6 separate regions of the Homo sapiens genome follow, and regions 1, 2, 3, 5 and 6 are each linked to region 4. Evidence: promoter capture Hi-C in 16 types of primary human blood cells and fetal thymus (Javierre and others, 2016). All regions are on one chromosome and are shown on one strand. The core of a region is centred on a gene start or on the middle of the fragment in contact, and the rest is flanking DNA. Distances in the headings are between cores, read along the strand shown.

Region 1 (3,387 bases), core at 23-2,522, 290 kb before region 4:
TGCACACACACGTGCATGAACACATCTATGTGCACAGGCCCCAACACCAGCCCTCCCTGCTGACGATGGTCACTCCCATATACTGATACCTCCTCTACTCCCTCACATGGACCCATGGGCACAAGGGCACTTCTACACATATGTGCCCAAGCATACTTCCTGGCCACTCGCACCCACTCACACACAGGCACACTCAGAAAGGGTATACTACAGGCACAACTACAGGAGTGCCCTCCCCTGACTGCACACGTGCCCTGTGCACCCAGACACACCCAGGCAAGCAGGTGGGCACAACAGGAAGGACTGGCAGTTCTCATATATGCACACGAGAGGTGACCGTTTCCCGGCATCTACACTCCACAACATCCCGTATCGTAAAGGCCATTTCACAGAGGAGATCCACAGACCACACAGCAACTGGCCACAGGATTTCTATACATGAGGGTCTTCCCGACAGCAGCCTGGTAGCAGTGGACACTGGAGCCTTGTCTCAAAGCGACATTTACGCAGTAAGCTTTGTTTTCAGTTAGGATTTGTTTTGGGGGGCTTGGAAATGGGGCTATAGGACATTATGGGGGGGGGCAAAACCTCACCAGCCACCCTTATGCTCCACCCTGGACAGACTCAACATCATCCACGTCAGGAACACGCTTTTGGATGTGACCCCATTCCAGCCCCCTAGAGCCAGCAGAGAAGGACCACCCACTTCCAGTGCGGCCAGGTCTGCAGTTCAGTCCTGGAGCCGGGGAAGGCTGTATACGCTCCCTGAGAGATGAAACAACCCCACACCTCTCGCCTCCCATGCTGGCTCCATTCTCAGTGCCTCAGACCAGAGCTGGGCCTGGTGAGGGGATCTTGAAGGAGGATGGGCCTGCCTGAGAGAGGATAGAGGGGCAGAGTTTGGAACACACTGGCAGCTGGAACAGGGAGGCTCAAGGCAGGGGGAGATGGTGGCCTCGTTGCCACAGAAGAGGCCTCGAGCCATGCTGAGGGAGGCAGGTAGGGCATGGGAGCTAGGGAGCAGTGGGGGCCACTTGAGGTGCAGGGAGCTGGGAGGGAGGCGGTACAGGGGAGGCCAGGCTGGGCTCAGGGCTGAGCGGTAATTAAAGGAGACGTAGGGGGCTCCCCAGGGCCAGCGGGGCTGGTAACTGACACGCGGGCCCCATTGCTCCGCTCATATTTCTCGCCGGATCGATACGTTTGACTCCCGACAAGACAATAATCGCTTGTACGCGGCCGGCGAGTCGATCAAATACATTATTAGAGCGAGGTCCCCCGGGGGCCCGGCGGGGAGTGGTGGGGGGGAGCAGCCAGCCCACCGGGGACAGCAGAGCGAGATTCTTCACCCCTCAGGGCCCCCCAGCCATGGCCTCTTCCTCTTGGCCACCCCTGGGGACCCTCTCTGTGGCTCAGTTCCCCAGCCTCTCTCTGAATGTCTGCTGCTTTGGTGATCTCTCTACTCAGCCCCCAGCATCATCCTTGCTCTGTGAGGGAACCCAAGGGTTCTTTCCCCATAGGCACTGCCCTCATCTGTAGGGCTGTGGCATGTGGGAGCTCAGAGAGGCTCCTCAGACCCCTAGCTTGGCAGGAGACAGGGAGACCAAGCCTCAGGCCATACTCTGAGTCCATGGCTGGGCCAGGAGATGAACTTGGGCCCAAGACTCAATGATACCCACCTCCCTCTGCCCAGTCCCCTTGCTGCATCTAAGCACACGGGGCTTCAGCAGCGCCCAGGCCAGGGGCAGCCTCTGGGGGGTTAGGGAAAGCTAACCTAGGGACCCAAACAAGCAGGAAAACAGGATGATAGGGGTGGCAGGAAAACAGGATGATAGGGGTGGCAGACAAACACATACACAAAGAGATGTGTGTCTGCTCCTGCTGCAGGGCCATGTGGTCCCCCAGTGGGCCTCAGAGACCCTCAAACCATGCCCAGCCTCAGCTCTGGCCCACCCGAGACACTGCTTGCCACTCTTGCCCACTTTCCTGGCTTCTAGGCTCAAGCCTATTTCCCCTTTTAAAAAAAATTAAATTAAGCTTTAGCTTTATTTTTAAAGTCCAGGCTCTTTTTTTTTTTTTTTCCTTTGAGACAGAGTCTCACTCTGTCGCTCAGGCTGGAGTGCAATGGCACAATCCCGGCTCACTGCAACCTCCGCCTCCTGGGTTCAAGCGCATCTCACGCCTCCTCAGCCTCCCGAGTAGCCGGGATTACAGGTGCACACCACCAGGCCAGGCTAATTTTTGTGTTTTTAGGAGAGACAGGGTTTCACCACATTGGCCAAACTGGTCTCGAACTCCTGAGATCATGTGATCCACACACCTCAGCCTCCCAAAGTGCTGGGATTACAGACATGACCTCAAGCCTATTTCCTGTTTACACACCTGCTTTGCCCTCTAGACCCGAAGTGCCCCTTTGCTTCTCCAGCAGCCCTAAGTCAAAGTCAAGTTCTGCTTAGGAGTATCCAGCATTCAGGGACTTAAAATATATCTTCCTCTTTGTCTTCATTAGCAGCAGCAGCCCCCACAGCATTGTGGTCTATGCTTTCCTTTTTTTTTTTTTTTTTTGAGACTGTCTGGCTCTGTCACTCAGGCTGGAGTGCAGTGGCATGATCTTGGCTCACTGCAAACTCTGCCTCCCAGGCTCATGCCATCCTCCCACCTCAGCCTCCCAGATAGCTGGGACCACAGGCGTGCACCACCACATCCAGCTAGTTTTGTATTTTTAGTAGAGACATGGGTTTTGCCATGTTGCCCAGGCTGGTCTCAGAACTCCTAGGCTCAAAGCCATCCACCCGCCTCAGCCTCCCAAAGTGCTGAGATTACAGTCGTGAGCCACTGTGCCTGGACTACTCTGTGCTATTTGAACCAATATATTATTTCTAAGTCCTCATGACAGTCTGAGGAGGTAAAGGTCTGCTATCATCCTCATTTTACTAACAAATTGAGCCTCAGAAAGGTGAAGTCTCCTGCCCCAAGTCACACAGCATGAGTGGTGGAGTCAGGATTTAAGCCCAGGTCTGTCCCCCTGACAGCTTGATCTCTCTGTACTGAGCCATGGAGCTCCTTCTTGGAGGCGTGAAATGCTCCCCATCCTTCAGGAGACAACAGCAACAGCCAGCCACTCCTTGTCCAGTCAGCAATGCTGGAATACCTCTGCAGCTCACAGTCCAACGCCCACAGCCTTCGAGTCAGTTTCTTGATATTCGGCAATGCACTGGACTCCTGATCCCATCAGCTCCTGGCTGAAGGTGGGCCAACCCTTCCCCATTTCCTTCAATTCAAACATTTCCTCATGTCCCTCAGTGCCAAGCCCTGTGCTGGGAGCTGAGGACCCAGAGGTGAGCTAGATCTAAAATCTGACCTCAAGGAGCTAACAGTCTGAGAGGAAGA
Region 2 (3,491 bases), core at 964-3,463, 320 kb before region 4:
CATTCTCCTGCCTCAGCCTCCCAAGTAGCTGGGACTACAGGCGCCCGCCACCACGCCTGGCTAATTTTTTTGTATTTTTATTAGAGACGAGGTTTCACCGTGTTAGCCAGGATGGTCTCGATCTCCTGACCTCGTGATCCGCCTGCCTCGGCCTCCCAAAGAGCTGGGATTACAGGCATGAGCCACCCTGCCCAGGCCAGAAGGGGCTCATTTCTTTAATATACAAAGAGAGATTTTGCAAATAACTCTATATAATTAAAGAAGAAGAAAAAAGTAGTGATTACAAATCCATAAGTAAAAAACTGACAACCCAGTAGTAATGTGGCTGACAGACAGGTCTGGAGAGTGCCCAGTGAAATTAATGTGAACAGCTCTGGATGGAAATACACTCAGATTCACTCGCAATAAGATAAACACGACTGCAATTGCACTGAGATATCATTTTTACCTCTCAGATCACCAAATATAAAAATAGTGTGTAATACCACATTGGGGAGTGTGGGGAAACACACATTCTTGTACATGCTGGTGAGAGGGTGATTTGGCAATGTCTATCAAAATTACAACTGCACACAGCCTTCAACTCAGCCATTCTACTGCTAAAAATTTATCTATTCTCACTCTAGAAGGCTGGGAATGGCCTTCTAGAGAGGTGCAAAATGACCTCTCTAGAAGGCTATTCCCAGCAGCAAGTGGCATTCTGGCAAAAGAGTAGAAGGTAGCTGAGCATGCAGCAAGACAGGATGGGTTGGATGAATGAGGGCAGAGCTCTACAGTGGAATACTATGCAGTCACCAGCAAGAATGAGGAGTCTCTTTGTGTCCTGACATGGAACAATCTGCAGGATGTCCTGTTGAGTGGAAAGCTCAAGAGGCAGAACAGAGGGTATGAGGTGGTACTGTTTGTGTCACACACAAAAAAAGAGTATATCTGGATATTTGCTTGGGTATGCATAGTTGATGTCTGGAAAACCATACCAGAAGGCCACGCTGTAAATCCATTCATACCTCTGGGATTTGAAACATGTACCTGGTCTGAGTAAATAAATATCCCAGTGTCTCACCCCCACCCACCCAAACAGTCACTGCTGATCAACATCCCTGCTTTTCGACAGCTGAACACTATTCCCTGACCCCCTGGGGGTGCCTCTGCTTATTCCGTGTATGGCAGTGGACTGGGTACTCCTGTGCTCCTGACCTCTCTAACTCTTGCTGCTAATCATCTCAGAATCCAGCTTAAGGGTTCTGAAGTCCTAGCACTCTATCCTGTGAAACAATGTCCACCCTGCCTTCCCTTTCCCAGCTACCCCCAGCCCAGTAACACCTCCATGGTCACCTCCCTCCAGATGTGGATCAACTGTGAAGCGGGCAACACTTATGCTTCAGGGCCCCCCATTTACAGTGAACCCTTTCAAGGCCCCATACCTAATTTTTGTTTCAAACATTGTCTTTTTCTTTCAAAGGGACTCCAAGTTGCATAATCTTTTGGCCCCACAAAACGAGACCCACCTGCCCTGTGCTACACGTCTCCCAAGTCAATGCATTTGCTTATGTGTACTTTTCCTCTGCCAGACTGACTCTAGCAGACCAGAGGCATATCTTATTCTTCGTATATCCCTAACTCATATCGGAACCTGGTAAGCCCCCATTAAATGCCCACTGAATTGAATCTAATGAATAAGACTAGAAATCAAGTCTTATTACCAGCATTTTTCTGATTTCCTATAACCCTTAGCTTGTTGATTAAAGTATTTGTTAACTCCTGTTCCTCCCTAGCATGACTCTCAATGAAAATTCCCCTTTCCTCCAGAAGCCTAGAGAGGTGTCTGTGGGTTTCGTTCTGAATCACCAGCGAGAGGAAAGAATGGGGAAAGTGCATCCCAGTTTGCAGAAGGTCTCATGGTGAGAAGTTCAGATGGGAAACATTTAATCACATCCCTGTCTAGTTTCTCAGACCAGAGACTTAGGGGTCAGCCTTAATCCCACCTTCCCTTCCTCTCCCCATCCATCCAATCCATCTGCAATGCAAGTCTTCCCAGTTCCCTCTACATCTCTTCCTGTCCACAGTGACTGTCCTGGTCCAAACCACCATCCTTCTACCCCAGACCATCCATTCGCCCCCAGGCAGGCAGAGAGGGGTCTAAAACAATAGAGGTCTAAATGTTTTTGTGCCCTGAATTCTTCAGCATCTGAAAAAAAAAAAAACCTATTGCCCTCTTCTCAGAATTAAAAACACATAACATATGATATATAGGATCTTTCTTTTTTCTTTCTTTCTTTCTTTCTTTCTTTCTTTCTTTCTTTCTTTCTTTCTTTCTTCTTTCTTTCTTTTTCTTTCTTTTCTTTCTTTCCCTTCTCTCTCTCTCTTTCTTTCTTTTTTGAGATGAGATGGAGTCTCCCTCTGTCACCCTGGCTGGAGTACAGTGGCTCAGTCTTGCTTGGCTCACTGCAACCTCTGCCTCCCGGGTTCAAGCAATTATCCTGCCTCAGACTTCCAAGTAGCTGAGGCTACAGGTGCACCCACCATGCCCATGCCCAGCTAATTTTTGTATTTTTAGTAGAGAAGGGGTTTCACCATGTTGGCTAGGCTGGTCTCAAACTCCCGACCTCAGATGATCCACCCACCTCGTCCTCTCAAAGTGCTGGGGTCACAGGTGTGAGCCACCATGTCCAGCCAGATATATAGAATTTCAAATGAAATCAATCACATAATTATAGTCATCATCACTAGGGACTCCAAAGGGAGGGAGAAGGGCAAAGGCTGAAAAACTTCCTACTGGGTACTGTGTTCACTACTGGGTGACAGGAACAATTATACCCCAAACCTCAGCATCCATGCAATATAACCCTTGTAACATACCTACACATGTATCCCTGAATCTAAAATAAAAACTGGCTGGGCACAGTGGCTCATGCCTATAATCCCAGCACTTTGGGAGGCTAGATGTGAGAATCTTTTGAGCCCAGGAGTTTGAGACCAGCCTGGGCAAGATGGCAAGACCCTGTCTCTACAAAAAGAAAAAAACAAGAAGGAGGAAGAGGAGAAGGAGGAAGAGGAGGAGGAGGAGGAAGAGGAGGAGGAGGAGAAGGAGGAGGAGGAGGAGCAGGAGGAGAAGGAGAAGGAGAAGGAGGAGAAGGAAAATTAGCCAGGCATGGTGGTGCATGCCTGTGGTCCCAGCTACTCAGGATGCTGAGGTGGGAGGATCCCTTGAACCCAGGAGTTTGAGGTGGCAGTAAGCTATGATCACACCATGGCACTGCAGCCTAGGCAACAAAGGGAGACACCCGTCTCCAAAAAACAAAATAAAATAAAATAAATTAATTAAAATTTGGCTGGGTGCGGTGGCTCATGCCTGTAATCCCAGCATTTTGGAAGGCCAAGGCGGGCGAATCACTTGAGTTCAGGAGTTTGAGACCAGCCTGGCCAACATGGTGGAACCCCATCTCTACCAAAAAAATACAGAAAAAAAATTAGCCAGGTGTGGTGGCGGG
Region 3 (3,418 bases), core at 685-3,184, 340 kb before region 4:
TCTGGATTTTTCTCTCCTTTTGTTTGTTTAACAAGGAGCTAACAATTCAAGGACAAATACTTAAAAATATACATTATTTTTTCTTTGTTTCCGCCTTTGTCATCGTCGTCTTGCTTTGGAGACTGCTGAGGTCAAAGTTTAAACCGCATGAAGGACTTGCGGCTTGGAGTTTTTGTGTATTTTTTTTTATTTTTATTTTTAATTTTTTTTCACTTTTTTTCCAACATATAAAAAGGTAGCGGAGTTGTCTGTGGGTTTTTTTTTTTTTTTAAATGGTTAAATCTTTGGTTTGTTTCTTTTTTCTCTTGGAGGCCTTTATCTCTCGCACTTGCCTTTCCCACTCAGAGACCAGTGGGGGCCCGCGTGTCTCAATCTTGCTGTCTGTCTCACTCTCTCTCTCACTCAGGTCCCCCTACCCTGGGCTAGAGGAAGAGAGAGGCACCCTGGTGTTCATGTGGGTTAGAAAAACTAGTCAGGTCAAGAGGTCACCCTGACTTGGCTAGTCCCTCGCCAGATCTCCCCAGGGCTTGGAGAGCCCGTCATGGCCTTCTCCAGGGAGATGGATGGAAAACTCATATCCTTCCCCTCCTCCTGATCTCAGCCCCAACTCCTACTGGGGCTTGGGTTCCCCATCCCTACCCACCCCCACACACACACCCACCCCACCCCCCAGAAGAGAACAGAGAGAGGTGGTTTAGTTACTGGCATCAATTTTTTTTTTTTTTTTTTTGGCACAATGAAAAGGCCCACCATTAGGGTAGACCCAGTCTCTGTCCCTCCCTTAAGTAGGAGGTCAGGGTTGGGGAGAAGAGAAATTCAGAGGGCTCCCCACTGCTCCAACCCACTCATCTCTCCTCTCTTTCTAGCCCAGGCCCTTGGCCCCCAACCTCGGACATCTAACCTAGCCCATAGCCTAGCCTGGGGTTGCCCTCCCCATCCCCCACATAAAGCTCCCCAGCCCTCCAACTCTCTCGCTCATACACAGACACACGGACACAGGCTCTGTACAGACCACAAAATAAAAACGATGAGATAGTTTTGTTTCCCGGAGTCGAGACGGGGGACCAGAGTGTAAGGGGCAGATGGGGGTGGGGGGCATGAATTCCCCCATCACCTTCCCAACCCTGGCTCCCTCCAGCCCCCCAGCCCCTTGCCCTGGCTGGCCCCCAGCCAACGATATTTGGTTTCCTTTTTTTAACATTAAAGTTCTATGAGGTATTTGGTGCCTTATCTCGAGTCCTCAGGGGAGGGGGGCCCAGGGGGAGACCTGGGGCTCACCTGCCCCTCCCTCCCTCCTACCCCCTTCCCAATATTTGGTTTCACAGCTGTAGTTAAAGCTTGGGATTTGGTTATTTTTCCCCCTCCCAGGAATTTTTTTTTCTTGTTTTTCTTTTCCTAGGTGTGAGGGTTGGATGGGGAGGGTCCCCAGCACCCCCGGCTGCACAGGGGTCCCTCCACCAACATCAGGGCATCTGCCCCATCCCTGCCCCCTGCTCCTCCTCTCCTCTTTACCCCACTCCCACATACTGGGGTGGGGAGAGGTCCCAGGTGGTGGGACTTGATGGGGAGGAAGCAGGATGAAGTGGGTGGTGGTGAGTCCTGGATTTTCTTTCCTTTTTTTTTTTTTTTTTTCCTTTTTGGTCTAGAATCATAGTTTTTGTTTGAGTCATCTCCACCATGCCTTCCATGCTGCCTGTCTTCTCGGAGGGGGTTTTTGGTTGTAATTCCTTTCATTTTGCTCTGCTCAAATGTCCTTCCTATTTGGTCAGGAGCCCTTGGCCCCCTCTCCACCCTTGGGCTGGGGCCCAAGCCCTCTTGCCAGTCCCTTCTCTCTTCAGGAAATAAACATGGACAAACTCAGAGGTAGGGTAAGGGCAGGGAGTCGTTCAGCGGAGATGCTTACATTCCGGTGAGGTTGGGTAGACGAGGTGCCAGGCCCCATCGTGCCGGGGTGGGAGGGGCGGCTACTTCACCACTGCCCGGACAAGGCACCCAGAGGCCCCTGCAATGGCCGAGTCTCTGCTGCCTCCGTCGCCCAGCCCAACAGTTTCATTTCCCGGGTGGGAGAAGGGAGACAAGGAAAAAAGAGAACGCTGAGGCCTGGAGCTCCATCTGCCTCTCCTCAGAGTGTCCGGCAGAAAGTGGAAGCTGCCCAGGCCAAAGCCCTGCGGTCTCAGGGCTCTCCTCTCTCTCTGCTCCTGCCCAACAAGGGGCAGGGGCCACACTACGGCTGTCAGGCCCCACCCTGATTTCAATGGCTCGTGTCCTTCACTGCAACACTTTGGTTTGAGGAGAGACACAGAAAGAACAAGATTGAGAGAGAAGAGAGGAGAGCAAAGGGAGAGAGAGGAGACAGGAAGGAGGAGAGGAGAGAGGAAGGAGGGGAGGAGAGAGGAAGGAGGGGAGGAGAGAGGTCAGACAAAAGAGAACCGAAAAAGAAATCAAAGGAGGAATCAAACCACCCAAAAGTTGTTAAGTTTTCCTTCATCTGTTCTTTTTGCTTTCTTACTCCTTTTTTTCCTGTCTTTTTTTAAAGCTTTTTCAGTTGATTTGGGAGGGGAGTTTGGGGCTCTTCACCCCTGTCCCTGATACCCTCTCTCAGCCCCGCCCACCCGCTTCCATCTGCCCTGGCCGAGGGACAGGCCCTGCCCCAGCCGCCCCCTCCGGCTTTCCCAAAGACAACGTCCATGAGGTATTTGTGAAGAGAAAGAAGCATCCGTCCTTCCATCCGCCTTGGGGAACAAGGGCCTGGACCACCGGTGCAGGGGCTTGGCTCCGCCTCGCGGTTCCATCTTATTCTTGAAGAGTCCTCATCTTCTTTCCCTTTTATATATATATATATATATATGTTTATATATATATATAAATTTTTTTTCTAGTTTAAATTTATTGTTTGTTTGTTTCTGTTTTTTTGGTTTTCGGTTCAAAACTTTGTTGGCCTCCACAATAGCAGGAGGGCAGGGTGGCTCCCAGTGGTGTCTCTCCTCTGTCCGTCGTCAGTGGAGACGTGTCCGGGGCTGGTCAAACACAGGGTCCAGCCAAGAGTTGTGGAGGTCTTGTGGGAGTGGTGGCCACCACCGCGCCCTCTCAGATGGGGACCACAGGCTGTGGCACTGTCCCCACCACATGGACCCTGATGGGGATGCCATCTCGAGGAACCCCACCACTGGGGTGTGTGCGTGCGTGCATGTGGGGGGAGGGAGAGGCATTCGCCAGTACCAGAGGGGCACAGGGTGGGAAAAGCGAGGTGAGTTCTCTTTTTGGTTTCTGGTTAATGTCAAAGAACGTGAAGGATCCCACGGATAGGCACTGGAATATGAATTTTTTTTTTTTTCAGGGAAACAGACAGGATGGAAAAAGACAACTGAATGCCCTCAACTGAATGTCTTCATCCCCTCTTGCCTGAAATTTCCACCTT
Region 4 (3,756 bases), core at 528-3,027:
AGACCAGCCTGGGCAACATAGCGAGGCCACGTCTCTACGGAAAATGTAAAAATTAGCGGGGCATGGTGGTGCACTTGTAGTCCCACCTACTCCGGAGGCTGAGGTATGAGGATCGCTTGAGCCCAGGAGTTTGAGGCTGCAGTGAGCCATGATCATACCAGTGCACCCCAGCCTGGGCGACAGAGTGAGACTTTGTTTTTTTCTTTTTTTGAGATGGAGTCTTACTCTGTCACCCAGGCTGGAGTGCAGTGGCACGATCTCAGCTCATTGCAACCTTTGCCTCCCGGGTTCAAGTGTTTCTCTGCCTCAGCCTCCCGAGTAGCTGGGATTACAGGCACCTGCCACCACGCCTGGCTAATTTTTGTATTTTTAGTAGAGACGGTGTTTCACCATCTTGGCTAGGCTGGTCTTGAACTCCTGGCCTCAAGCAATCCATCTGCCTCGGCCTCCCAAAGTGCTGGGATTACAGGTGTGAGCCACTGCGCCCAGCCTTTTTTTTTTTTTTTTTTTTTTTTAATAATGGGGATGTTGATCTTTATCTCAGGATTGTTGAAGGATGACCAGAGCTAACCTGATACACCGTAAGTTTTTAGTATTTTTTAAGTAAATGAATGACTGTCCCTGAGAGGCTTCAATTCCTCCAGATTCACACTCACCTGTATCCTGGTAGTGTCTGTGATTCCGAGCACTGGTTTTCTCATGTGGCGACGTCCCACTGTATCCTGACATCACTTTATAACCAGATTTTCCTTTGAAGCCTAGCTTCACTCCCTGGGCCACCATTCCACCCATCGTGGCTGGAGAATCTGTGTCTGAAGATGATCCCACATCTGATTCTGACTCAGAATCTGTGACCCACTCAGAAAGTGCCTTCCACTCTAGGGCTGATCGCTGTATGGATAGTTCCTGAAGTTTTGTTAGAAATCCCAGCTCTGTCAAAGATCCCTGCTTGGATTTGGCTCCCTGGACTGGCGTTGTTTGCTTGTCTGACTGTTCAGGTGTCTCTTGGGACGTAGATTCAGTCGGGGCAGATGGCTCCCTTTTGGCTCCAGGTTTAGCCTGGGCCGCAGGTGTTGATTCAGCTTCTTGTTGAGCTGGAGGTGGCTCTCCTGGCCCAGGCCCTGGCTGGGCTACATGTCTTTGTCTCAATGCTGGCTCCTGTTGAGTTATAGATTCTTTTCCTAGCCCAGGTCCCTGCTGGGAGGCAGCTTCCTGTTGAGTGAGCAGCACCCTTTGGATGTAAGGTGATTGCTGTGGTGCGGGCTTCTGTGGGGCAAGAAATTCCTCTTGTGAAGCAGATTTTTGTTGGGCTCTAGGTTCCTTCTGGGATTCAGCATCATGTTGTGCAGGGGTCTCCTGCTGGGTGAGGGGTCTTTGGTTTGAAGCAGGCTTCTGTTGGGTATTGGATCCCTGCAGAGTCTTCGATTCTGGCTGGGCTATGGGTGTCTTTTCTGGCCCAGGCTCTAGCGGGGTTATAGGCCTCTGGTGTGGTTCAGGTTGCCAGTCTGACCTAGACACTGACTTAGAACCTGGCTCCATTGTTATTTCCCTCACGGGAGATATTGATCTTCCAGGTTCTATCCTTCTGGGCTCCCACCCAGCCCTCTCTCTTCACAGATCTCTCATTGATTCCTCATGATGGCACTTCCTCTTGGGTTTCACTCCATCCTAGCATCACTGGTCTTCCTTTTTAAGGCAGCTGGCAGTTGGCCGATCACAGCTGGCCCCCACTAAGTAATGAACTCTGTGCCTCTTTCTTTGGTGGGAGGATTAGGAATAGGAGGAGGCTATGTGCCTAGCACTCTCTTACAAGAAGGGAGGGGCTTGCTCTCTTGTGTCATAAATAGGGCCCCACCCCACCCACCACTCCGTTAAAATGTTTCTTCTCATAAGGCAAGCATCCCAATTTAGGCCTCCGTGTCATCTGGGATGACAGAAGCCAGATGCTGGATGAGTGTTCCTTTTTTCTCTTTCCTTCTAATGTCTGAGGAAAGCGTCATTCAGGGGGCAGTCTCTGTAGTTGTTGTAATAATTATTTCCCTCTTTGTTCATTCCTACAAATGGTTGCCAGATTATTTATTTATTTACTTATTGAGACAAGTCTTTCTCTGTTGCCCAGGCTGGAGTGCAGTGGTACCATTTTGGCTCACTGAAGCCTCCACCTCCTGGGTTCAAGCGACTCTCCTGCCTCAGCCTCCCAAGTAGCTGGGACTACAGGCGTGCACTGCCACGCCCGGCTAATTTTTATATTTTTAGTAGAGATGGGGTTTTGCCATGTTGGCCAGGCTGGTCTCAAACTCCTGACCTTAAGTGATCCACCCCCACCCCCCGCCCCCGGGCCTCCCAAAGTGCTGGGTTTACAGGTGTGAGCCACCACGCCCAGCCAGGTTGCTAGTTTAATTTCCTTATATTGTCATTCTGATCATTTAACTCTCATGTTAAAAACTAATGTCATGCCTTCCCACTTTTATAGCTTGAGGCCCTTCTGAATGGCATTTGAGATACTCCATGCCATCTCTCTAGCCCTGAACTATGATCCTGTACTAGATTGGAAACTCACAGAAGACAGTGACCACTGATGACAATGACTGATAATGATGGTGGTAATGGTGATGATAGTAGTCATAAATACCAAAGGCTGCCTAAGTGCTAAGAAACTGTGCCAAGTTTTTTTTTTAAACCTATATTATCTTTAATAAGACCGTGTCTGGTTCATTGGTATGCTTTTTTTTTTTTGTCCCACCTCGCTCTTACCTCAGAAAGATTTGTCGAATGAGTGAAAGATGAACAAGTAGGCCAATGGAGACAGAGTGAGGGTCTTGGTGGGGATAAGTATGTGTAGAATCTGGATTCAGTCTGCAGTGAATAGGGTAAAATGGGTCATCTGGTTGTGAATTGGCAGACCCCATTTGAAGGAAACAATTTTGATCTGTGACATTTAAAAATATTTATTGACTTCTGTTTGCTACTTTCCTGATTGCATTTAAGGTTAAATGACACTAGCTAGGAAGCTACAGTTTCCTGGAATCTTTCAGGTAATTAAGCCTAAGCCTGGGTAAGGGGAGGGCACAGGCTAAGACTGACGAGAGAAGAAGACACTAGAGAGAGCAACAAACAAAATGATCTTGAAAAACATGCTTTTTGAGAGCACTGGAATGATTTAGGGGTGGGTACAGTGGGAGAGTGAGGTGGGAGAAGAAGAGTGTCTGGTAGGTGTGCTCACTGTCTTCTTGGCTGAGAATGTTTAATTGGAAGAGTGGGCGCTCAGAGCTCCTACAAAGGCAGAGCAAAGCTTCTTAGCTGACATTGTTTGAGAAATTGCTGGCAGGCTCTGGAATGCTTGTTTGGCTTTCTGTGGTGCCTTTGGTGTCCTAGGGTGCAAATAAAGGGGAGAGGCTAGTGTTAAAACCATTTTTAACATTTCTTTTTTTTTTGGAGACGGAGTCTTGCTCTATTGCCCAGGCTGGAGTGCAGTGGCAGGATCTCAACTCACTGCAACCTCTGCCTCCCGGGTTCAAGTGATTCTCCTGCCTCAGCCTCCCAAGTAGCTGGGATTACAGGTGCCTGCCACCATGGCTGGCTAATTTTTGTATTTTAGTAGAGACAGGGTTTCACCATTTTGGCCAGGCTGGTCTGGAACTCCTGACGTCATGTGATCCACCCACCTCGGCCTCCCAAAGTGCTAGGATTACAGGCATGAGCCACCATGCCTGGCCTTCACATTTAATTTTTTTTTGAGATGGAGTCTCGTTCAGT
Region 5 (3,348 bases), core at 21-2,520, 360 kb before region 4:
GGGCACGGACATGCCAGGGGCCCGGGGTAAGTGAGAGCCCAAGTAAGAGCAATCAGCCCCGTAGGACCCCAGAAAGCTAGAGGGCCAGGGGCGGCAGTGAGCTATGTACCCAGAAGAAGAGGTGAGAAGAGGTCGAGGTGAATGGACGCTGAGGAGATGGAGGGCGCAGAGCAGGCCCCTAGTGGGGGAGGGTACTTGCCAGTCCGGAGAACGGGGAGAATGTGGTGCCCCCCTGCCAGGCGGCACCAGAGCCCAGCCTTCCAGGACCCAGAACCCAGCCCAATCCCTGCCCTGCAGACACTCACGGATCCTGGTGGGACGGAGGGCTGGGCTCCCTCGAGGCCCGAAGACCGACAGCGGGAGGTGCTCTGGCGCTGGGTGGTGGTGGGGCTGGGCGGGGGGAGAGGGCAGTCCACAGGGCCCCCTCCCCCGCCGCCGGTGGTGGCTCCCAACTAATCCAAAACGGTGGCTCCACAGGAGCAGGGAGGAAGGACAGGTGGAAGAGGAGAGGGCGGGCCGGGGAGGGGAGGAAGGGGAAAGGAGAAAATGGAGGAGAGAAGGGGAGAGAGGAGAGGGGGAAGGAGCAAATGGAGGGGAAGGAGGGAGGAAAGGAGGAGAGGAAGGTGAAAACGGAAGGGGGGGGCACAGGCAAAGCCGGGGGAGGGGGAAGCTGGCCCAGGAAAGGGCCCCCGCCCCCTCCCCTAGCCGGGCCGGCCTGGGGGGGCCACAGGGGGCGAGGACTGGGTGGAGAAAAGGAAGCCGGCCATCAGGAGAAGTGGGGGAGGGGAGGGCCTGCTGGGGGAGGGGGCCGCCCCCTTTCCCCCTCCCCCCTGGAGCCTGGGCCCTGCCCTGGTTGAGGCAAGGGCCCGGAGTCCTCAAGCCCTCAGCCCCCACGGGAAAAGCATGCTGGGGGCGGGGAGAGCCCGGGAGTGGAGAGCTGGGGAGGATGGAGAGCTGGGAGACCCGGAGAGGCCAAGAAGGGGGCAAATGAGGTGGAGAGATAGGGAGGAGGGAGAGGAGGATGGAGAGGAGCAGGTGGAAGAGAAAGGCGGAGGAGGGTGGGGTGTCCCAGGGGCTCCCGGTGCTGGGCCTCAGTGGGAGGGCCTGGCGACACACTCCTGGTCCCCTGTGAGGAGCCGGCTCCAGTCCCCGGCTCCAGTCCCCGGCTGGGCCTGCCTCCCTGCCGCTGGCTGCCGCCACCGCTCAGTCTCCCCTCCGAGGCCGCCGCCTGCCTGCCCGCCTGCCGCCTGCGCTGGGTCCTGGAGCGCAGTGGGGTGGTTCAGGAGAGAGAGAAGAGGGAGGGAGGGAGGCAGGGAGGAGGGCGGGCAGGAGGAAGGGAGGGAGGCAGGCAAAGAGAGAGTAGGGAGGTGAGTCGGGGGAGGGGGAGCCTGTATTGGTTGGGGCTGGGGGCCCCCCGCGAGGAGAATGCTGATGAGAAGAAGGAGCTGCATTGGATGGAAGGCCCACCCCCGAGCCACCCCCTCTACCACACCATGCCACCGCCCTGCCCAGGCAGCCCTGGGCACAGGAGCCCACAGAGATGAGAGGCAAGAAGACCCAGGGAGAAGGCCACTGAGATGAGGGGAGAGGGCTACAGAGATGAAGAGAAATGAAGAGAAGAGAGACAGCCGTCAAGACTGTCCAGAGAAGTGGGCTGAGGCCCACAAACCCCACAAGGACAAGGACAGGAAAAGCCCAGGGATAAGAAAGAAAGGCCCATGGAGACAAGGGAGCAGCCTACAGAGACAAGCAAAAGGACCTCGGAGACAAGGGGCAGTAATGTGGACATAGAGACCTCCCGCGAAGGAAAACGGGAGAAGCCAGAGACACAAGAGAGAGGCCCCTGGAAACAGAAAGCACTCCTCAGATATGGGGAGCGGTCCACAGGGCAGGGAGAGAGCCAAGGAGAGCCGAAGAAGGTCACAGAAACAAGGGAGGCCTACAGACACCAGGGTACCAAAAAGACAAGGATGTGGCTCATAGACACAAGAGAGCCACTGAGGCAGGAGCTGCCAGCCTGGAGATGCGGGGCAAGCCTCCCCCAATATAAATAGCTCCTATAGAGGTGAGGGGATGGGTGGTGAGTATGAGAATTCCCTATAGTGCACAGAGAAATCCTTGGGACCCACAGAGATGAGTGGGTGGAGAGAAGGGGCCCTCATTCTCTAGTCACAGGAGCAGAGAGGCAGTGGGAAAGGTGGATGGGACAAGGAGAGGAAGCTGGAGGGCAGAGCCAGAAGTGGGAGACTCCTTCCCAGGGAACACCCTGCAGCCTCTCAGAAGGAGCTGAGCAGGACAGGGGGATGGAAGAGAGAAGCGACACAGATCTTGGAGTGGGGGTGGGTGGTGCATGGCTGGGTGGGGGGTGAAATTTGGGGGGAAGAAACATGACAGTTGGCGCCGAAGGCTGAGCCCGTGACTCACCACCACCCCCGATGCTCGTGATGGGGAGGAGACACTGACACACTCACGTGCGGCCCACAGCATATGTGACCGCATGCCTCGAACACACAGCTGGCACATGGCAACTCCTGGACCACATGCCAGCCCAGCACAGGAAGCCCTCTGCAAGCTGGCATGTGGGGCATCCTGGACACACATCTGACACATATATCTGACGCTGAAGGACCACCAACTTTGCACACACCTCCTTACCCCACTTGGTCAACATCTACACCGCCCCCTCAAACATCCACACTTAACTCCAGTCAGGCCTAAAAGCCCAGATTCACACCTGCCTCTGGGACTTTGCTTATGAAGGACCTCAACACAGAACACCATCCTTTCGACCAGGGCGGTGGCTCATTCCTGTAACCCCAGCACTTTGGAAGGCCGGGGCAGGTGGACCACCTGAGGTTGGGAGTTCAAGACCAGCCTGGCCAACATGGCAAAACCCCGTCACTACTAAAAATACAAAAATTAGCCAGGCCCGGTGGCACACTCCTTTAGTCCCAGCTACTTGGGAGGCTGAGGCACAAGAATTGCTTGAACCTAGGAGGCAGAGGTTGCTGTGAGCCATGATCATGCCACTGCACTCCAGCATGGGAGACAAAGCGAGACTCCATCTCCAAAAAAAAAACAAAAAACAAAAACCAACCACCATCCCCTCTAAATTCAACCTGTCCCGGAAATCCCAGCCAGTCCTGCACTACCACCTCCAGAAAGACCTCAGCTTATCCTCAGCTTATTCCTATATGATCTGGAGAAAAGAGACCTGCACCACCCAAATCAAGTTGAGAAGTCCAAGCAAAAGGCCTGAGAAGTTACCTGGATCCTCAAATTTTCTTTTTTTTTCCTTTTCTTTTTTTTTTTTTTTTGAGATGGAGTCTCGCTCTGTTGTCCAGACTG
Region 6 (3,319 bases), core at 772-3,271, 270 kb before region 4:
GTGGGGCGAACCCTCAGGCCGGCCTGCGCCCACCCCCAGAGCTGCTGGCTGCCCCGCCTTTGGGTCCCTGCGGGTAGAAGTTGCCTTGGCCTCACCCCAGGGTCTGGCCTGCACATGTGTGGTTGGGGTGGGAAGCTTGTGCGGCTTCGGACAGGAGGTTCCAGCGAGAGGTCTGTGGTGTGCGAGCTGCCATGGACGCAGGGTGTGCATGTGTCCTCAGGCTCTGCTGGGGGATTCTAGGACTGCACATACCCGAGCGTCTTGGCCCGAGTCATGTCTGTGTGTGAACATGAGTTCATGGATGTGTCCCAGGAGCACTGGGTGGCTGTGTATGCACTTCCATGAGTGTTTCCCTGACGCTAAGTCTCTGTCTGTCCCTTGGGGATGTATCCCAGGAACACCTCAGGGATCTCCTCTGTCCCCAGTTAATGGGGTAGCTATGTGTTCCCATGTGCTCTGGGAAGCCTGTGTGTGTTGGCGTGCGCATGCCCCTGACAGAGTGTGTCTGAGCACGGATGCTGCTGTGCGTGAGCCTCCATGGGTCCCGTGTGGATCTGTGCCTGTGCCTGTGGGCAGCTGCGTGTGCTTCAGGGATCTGCGCGGTGGTCTCTATGTGTACTGGAAGCAGGTTCTCCTCATGAGTGTCGGAGAGTCCATGCGGTTTCTCTGTGTGTCTATGTGATGCTGTGTGTCCCTGTGTGCCGATGGTCGAGTGTGTTTCCACAAGTGGGCTGGAGGCTCTGGGTGTGTCCCTGTGTGTGTCATGGTGACTTGGTGTAGACGGCACGGTGTATGTGTGTAGAGGCTACAACCCTGAGTCTCTGAGTGGGGGAGGGTGGCGAGGCAGCAGGGGCTGCCACGGAGACACTGGCTAGCCGGTTTTATCACTACATCATCTCCAAATCCCAATGTCAGGGCCTGCCTGCCTTCTTTCCCTTCCCTGCCAGAGACCCCAGACCCCTGCCAGGATGGGCCCAGGCCCCCGTCCCTCCCCCGGCACCTTGGGCAGGCTGTACCTCTGCTCCTCAACACCCCTGCTTTGGTGGATGCCACCTCAACTCCACCAAGCGACCTCCGTCCCTCCCAACCCCCCCAGCGCCACCCGCTCCCCCCGCCCTCCCCCCACCACAAGTCCAGTCCAACCCAGACAAAAGCAATTACTCCAGAGGTAGGATGTGAGTGTGGGTGTTAGAAACAGGAAAAAAAGGGGGGGACAGGGAGGGGGAGCGAGAGAGACACAAACAGAGGCAGGGATGGACAGCCAGAGACCCCGAGAGACGACAAGAGAAAGAGAACGGCAGAGTGAGAGACAGAGGCACACGCAGAGAGATGCACAGAGAAGCAGAGACAGAAGATGAAAGAGACTGGAAGGGACACAGACACCAAAACCAGGAGGCAAAGGCAGAGAAAAAGAGCAGAGGAAGGGCAAATGCAGAGAGCACGACAGAGAGAGACGCAGAGACAGTGACTGGAGAGACGGAGAGAGAAACAGAGAAAGAGCACACAACAGAGCAGAAAACCCAGTGATGGAGCCACACAGAGAGAAGACGCAGATAAAGAGAGAACGGGGGCCAGAGGCAGGGAGAACTAGAAAGGGGGCAATGCACAGAGAGGAACAGAAAGGCTGAGTGAGAGTGAGAGAGAAAGGAGACCAGAGAGATAAAAGGCAGACGGCAGATAGTGGTGGAGGGGAGTTGGTAACCCACTAGAGACTCTGAGATGGCAAAGCTAGAGAGAAACTGAAAGGGGATCACGTCCAAAGTGATGTCTCTCACACACACACACACACACACCTTTCTCCCCATTCCCCAGGCCAGAAGTCAGGGATGCTCAAGCCTTTTTCCACGTTCCTCTGGGCCCCTGTGAGCCACGGTGGGGAGGGGACAGGGTGAATGGACAGGGATGATCTCAGGTAGCTTCAGGGACCAGCCAGAGCCGACTGGGACCTGATCACATGGGTAGGGAGAGCAGTACATCCCTCCTTACCACACACCGCCACCTCACCCTCCACACACAGTCCACACACACCAGGGCCTTGGCCAATTTCCTCGTACTCTGCCAGGCATGGCCAGCCTGGGGGGTGGGGGGCCAGGTGTGAGGTCCTTCCTTCCTGCCCCACAGTCCTGCCCACCTGCCTCAGCTGCAGCTGCCCCGCACTGTTTTTTCTTTCTCATTGTCCCCTGCCTTCAGCCCGGCTGCCTTCATCTTTCTCTGATGCACTCTCATGCGCTCAGCTCGCATGCACGCGCCCTCTCTTTCTCTCTGTTCCTTTCTGTCTCTGAGTCCCTCACTCTGCTTTCCTGCCTCTGACTTTTCTGCTGTTTCCTCTTCCTCTTTGCTCCTCTCCGTTGCTCTGTTCCCCTCTCTGTGTTTCTGTCATGAGGTGCATGCTCCCTGGGTCTCCCTCTCCCTCCACTCCCATCTGGTGTATTCTGGATTCCCCTTTCTTAGACAATCCCTCTGGCCCTCCTATCCACCTCGTCCCCAAGAAAAGCAAGGTTGGGCACAGTGGTCCTAGCCTGTAGTCCCAGCTACATAGGAGACTGAGGCAGGAGGATTGCTTGAAAGTTTGAGAAAAGCAAGGGTGGATCACTGTGTAAAGGACCTCAGAAGCTGTCCTGGAGTGCTAGGAGTGGGTGAATACTTCCTTTCTTGTTTTTCCCTCAATCACCTTTTATCCTCCTCTCTTTCCTACCCCACCTCACACCCACCCCAGGCCGGATCTCTGGATCTCCCCAGCCTCCAGATCTCAGTGTGGCTCTCTCTGGAGACAAAAGCTAAGACTCAACCCACAGGCAACACTCAACACAGAGATCCAGCTCAGAAAAAAAGGAGCTGACCAGGGAGGAATGGAGAGGCCAAGACACATAATGAAGACTAAGAAAAGGAAGAAAGATGATGCTGGGGCTGGAGCCAAAGGGAGAGGAAGAGGAAAGGAAGGAAAGCCAGGGGCAGAGACCTGGCAGGGCAGCGTGAGCCCAACAACCACGGGGTGGGGGTGGGGCGCGCATCAAGATTTCTAACAAGCGCAGCTGAAAACACCCAGGGCCGTTCTCTGAGGCCTTCTCTCTGCCTACCAGCCCTCACCAGTGCTTCGAAGAGCCCTGAGGAACGTCTCTCTATTTGAAGTCAGAGCCGAGTGCCTGCTCTCGGCACCTGGGGCTCCATGCTTACCAGGATGGTGGGTACTTGACCTTCATTTGCTGTGGGACTGTCAGGGATTCCAGGGACCCACTGGTCCCCGAACTGGCTCAGAGATGCAAGCCATTTTTACCTCCTACACATCTATAATCCCCACCCCATGGCTGACAAATATTCC

The links. Contacts are between HindIII fragments. The CHiCAGO score rates a contact against its expected background, and 5 or more counts as called.
Region 1: a fragment that was not itself captured here is called in contact with the fragment with the promoter of LIPE in region 4 in 11 of 17 cell types (naive CD8 T cells, neutrophils, naive CD4 T cells and 8 more); the score reaches 10.6 in naive CD8 T cells.
Region 2: a contact is called between a fragment that was not itself captured here and the fragment with the promoter of LIPE in region 4, in 14 of 17 cell types (naive CD8 T cells, total CD4 T cells, naive CD4 T cells and 11 more). The highest score is 18.3, in naive CD8 T cells.
Region 3: a fragment that was not itself captured here is called in contact with the fragment with the promoter of LIPE in region 4 in 9 of 17 cell types (fetal thymus, erythroblasts, total CD4 T cells and 6 more); the score reaches 10.7 in fetal thymus.
Region 5: a contact is called between the fragment with the promoter of GRIK5 here and the fragment with the promoter of LIPE in region 4, in 3 of 17 cell types (neutrophils, fetal thymus and naive CD8 T cells). The highest score is 6.1, in neutrophils.
Region 6: a contact is called between a fragment that was not itself captured here and the fragment with the promoter of LIPE in region 4, in 1 of 17 cell types (neutrophils). The highest score is 6.0, in neutrophils.

What each region holds. Positions count from the first base shown.
Region 1 is chr19:42,133,643-42,137,029 of GRCh38, forward strand. It overlaps LNROP (long non-coding regulator of POU2F2), which reads left to right. Exons shown (of 3, transcript NR_038332.1): 3 at 3,030-3,387. It also overlaps a transcript of POU2F2 not described here. Among named protein-coding and RNA genes, the nearest start is that of MIR4323, 1.8 kb to the left of the region's middle. RefSeq lists an enhancer at 26-75. The HindIII fragment of the contact is 1,520 bases long and covers 513-2,032 here.
Region 2 is chr19:42,103,736-42,107,226 of GRCh38, forward strand. All of the region lies in intron 5 of POU2F2 (POU class 2 homeobox 2), which reads right to left. Among named protein-coding and RNA genes, the nearest start is that of POU2F2, 27 kb to the right of the region's middle. The HindIII fragment of the contact is 5,797 bases long and covers 1-3,491 here.
Region 3 is chr19:42,086,884-42,090,301 of GRCh38, forward strand. It overlaps POU2F2 (POU class 2 homeobox 2), which reads right to left. Exons shown (of 15, transcript NM_001394376.1): 15 at 1-3,418. Among named protein-coding and RNA genes, the nearest start is that of ZNF574, 12 kb to the left of the region's middle. The HindIII fragment of the contact is 1,199 bases long and covers 1,336-2,534 here.
Region 4 is chr19:42,425,611-42,429,366 of GRCh38, forward strand. It overlaps LIPE (lipase E, hormone sensitive type), which reads right to left and starts at 1,778. Exons shown (of 10, transcript NM_005357.4): 1 at 657-1,778. The coding sequence starts at 1,539. It overlaps CXCL17 (C-X-C motif chemokine ligand 17), which reads right to left. Exons shown (of 4, transcript NM_198477.3): 4 at 2,668-3,371. The coding sequence ends at 3,274. The region is part of intron 1 of LIPE-AS1 (LIPE antisense RNA 1); the gene reads left to right. The HindIII fragment of the contact is 12,356 bases long and covers 1-3,290 here.
Region 5 is chr19:42,068,936-42,072,283 of GRCh38, forward strand. GRIK5 (glutamate ionotropic receptor kainate type subunit 5) reads right to left here and starts at 1,271. Exons shown (of 20, transcript NM_002088.5): 1 at 306-1,271. It also overlaps a transcript of ZNF574 not described here. The HindIII fragment of the contact is 24,593 bases long and covers 1-3,348 here.
Region 6 is chr19:42,152,991-42,156,309 of GRCh38, forward strand. POU2F2-AS2 (POU2F2 antisense RNA 2) reads left to right here. Exons shown (of 2, transcript NR_186341.1): 2 at 2,717-3,319. It also overlaps a transcript of POU2F2 not described here. Among named protein-coding and RNA genes, the nearest start is that of POU2F2-AS2, 2.1 kb to the left of the region's middle. RefSeq lists an enhancer at 2,004-2,532. The HindIII fragment of the contact is 3,776 bases long and covers 134-3,319 here.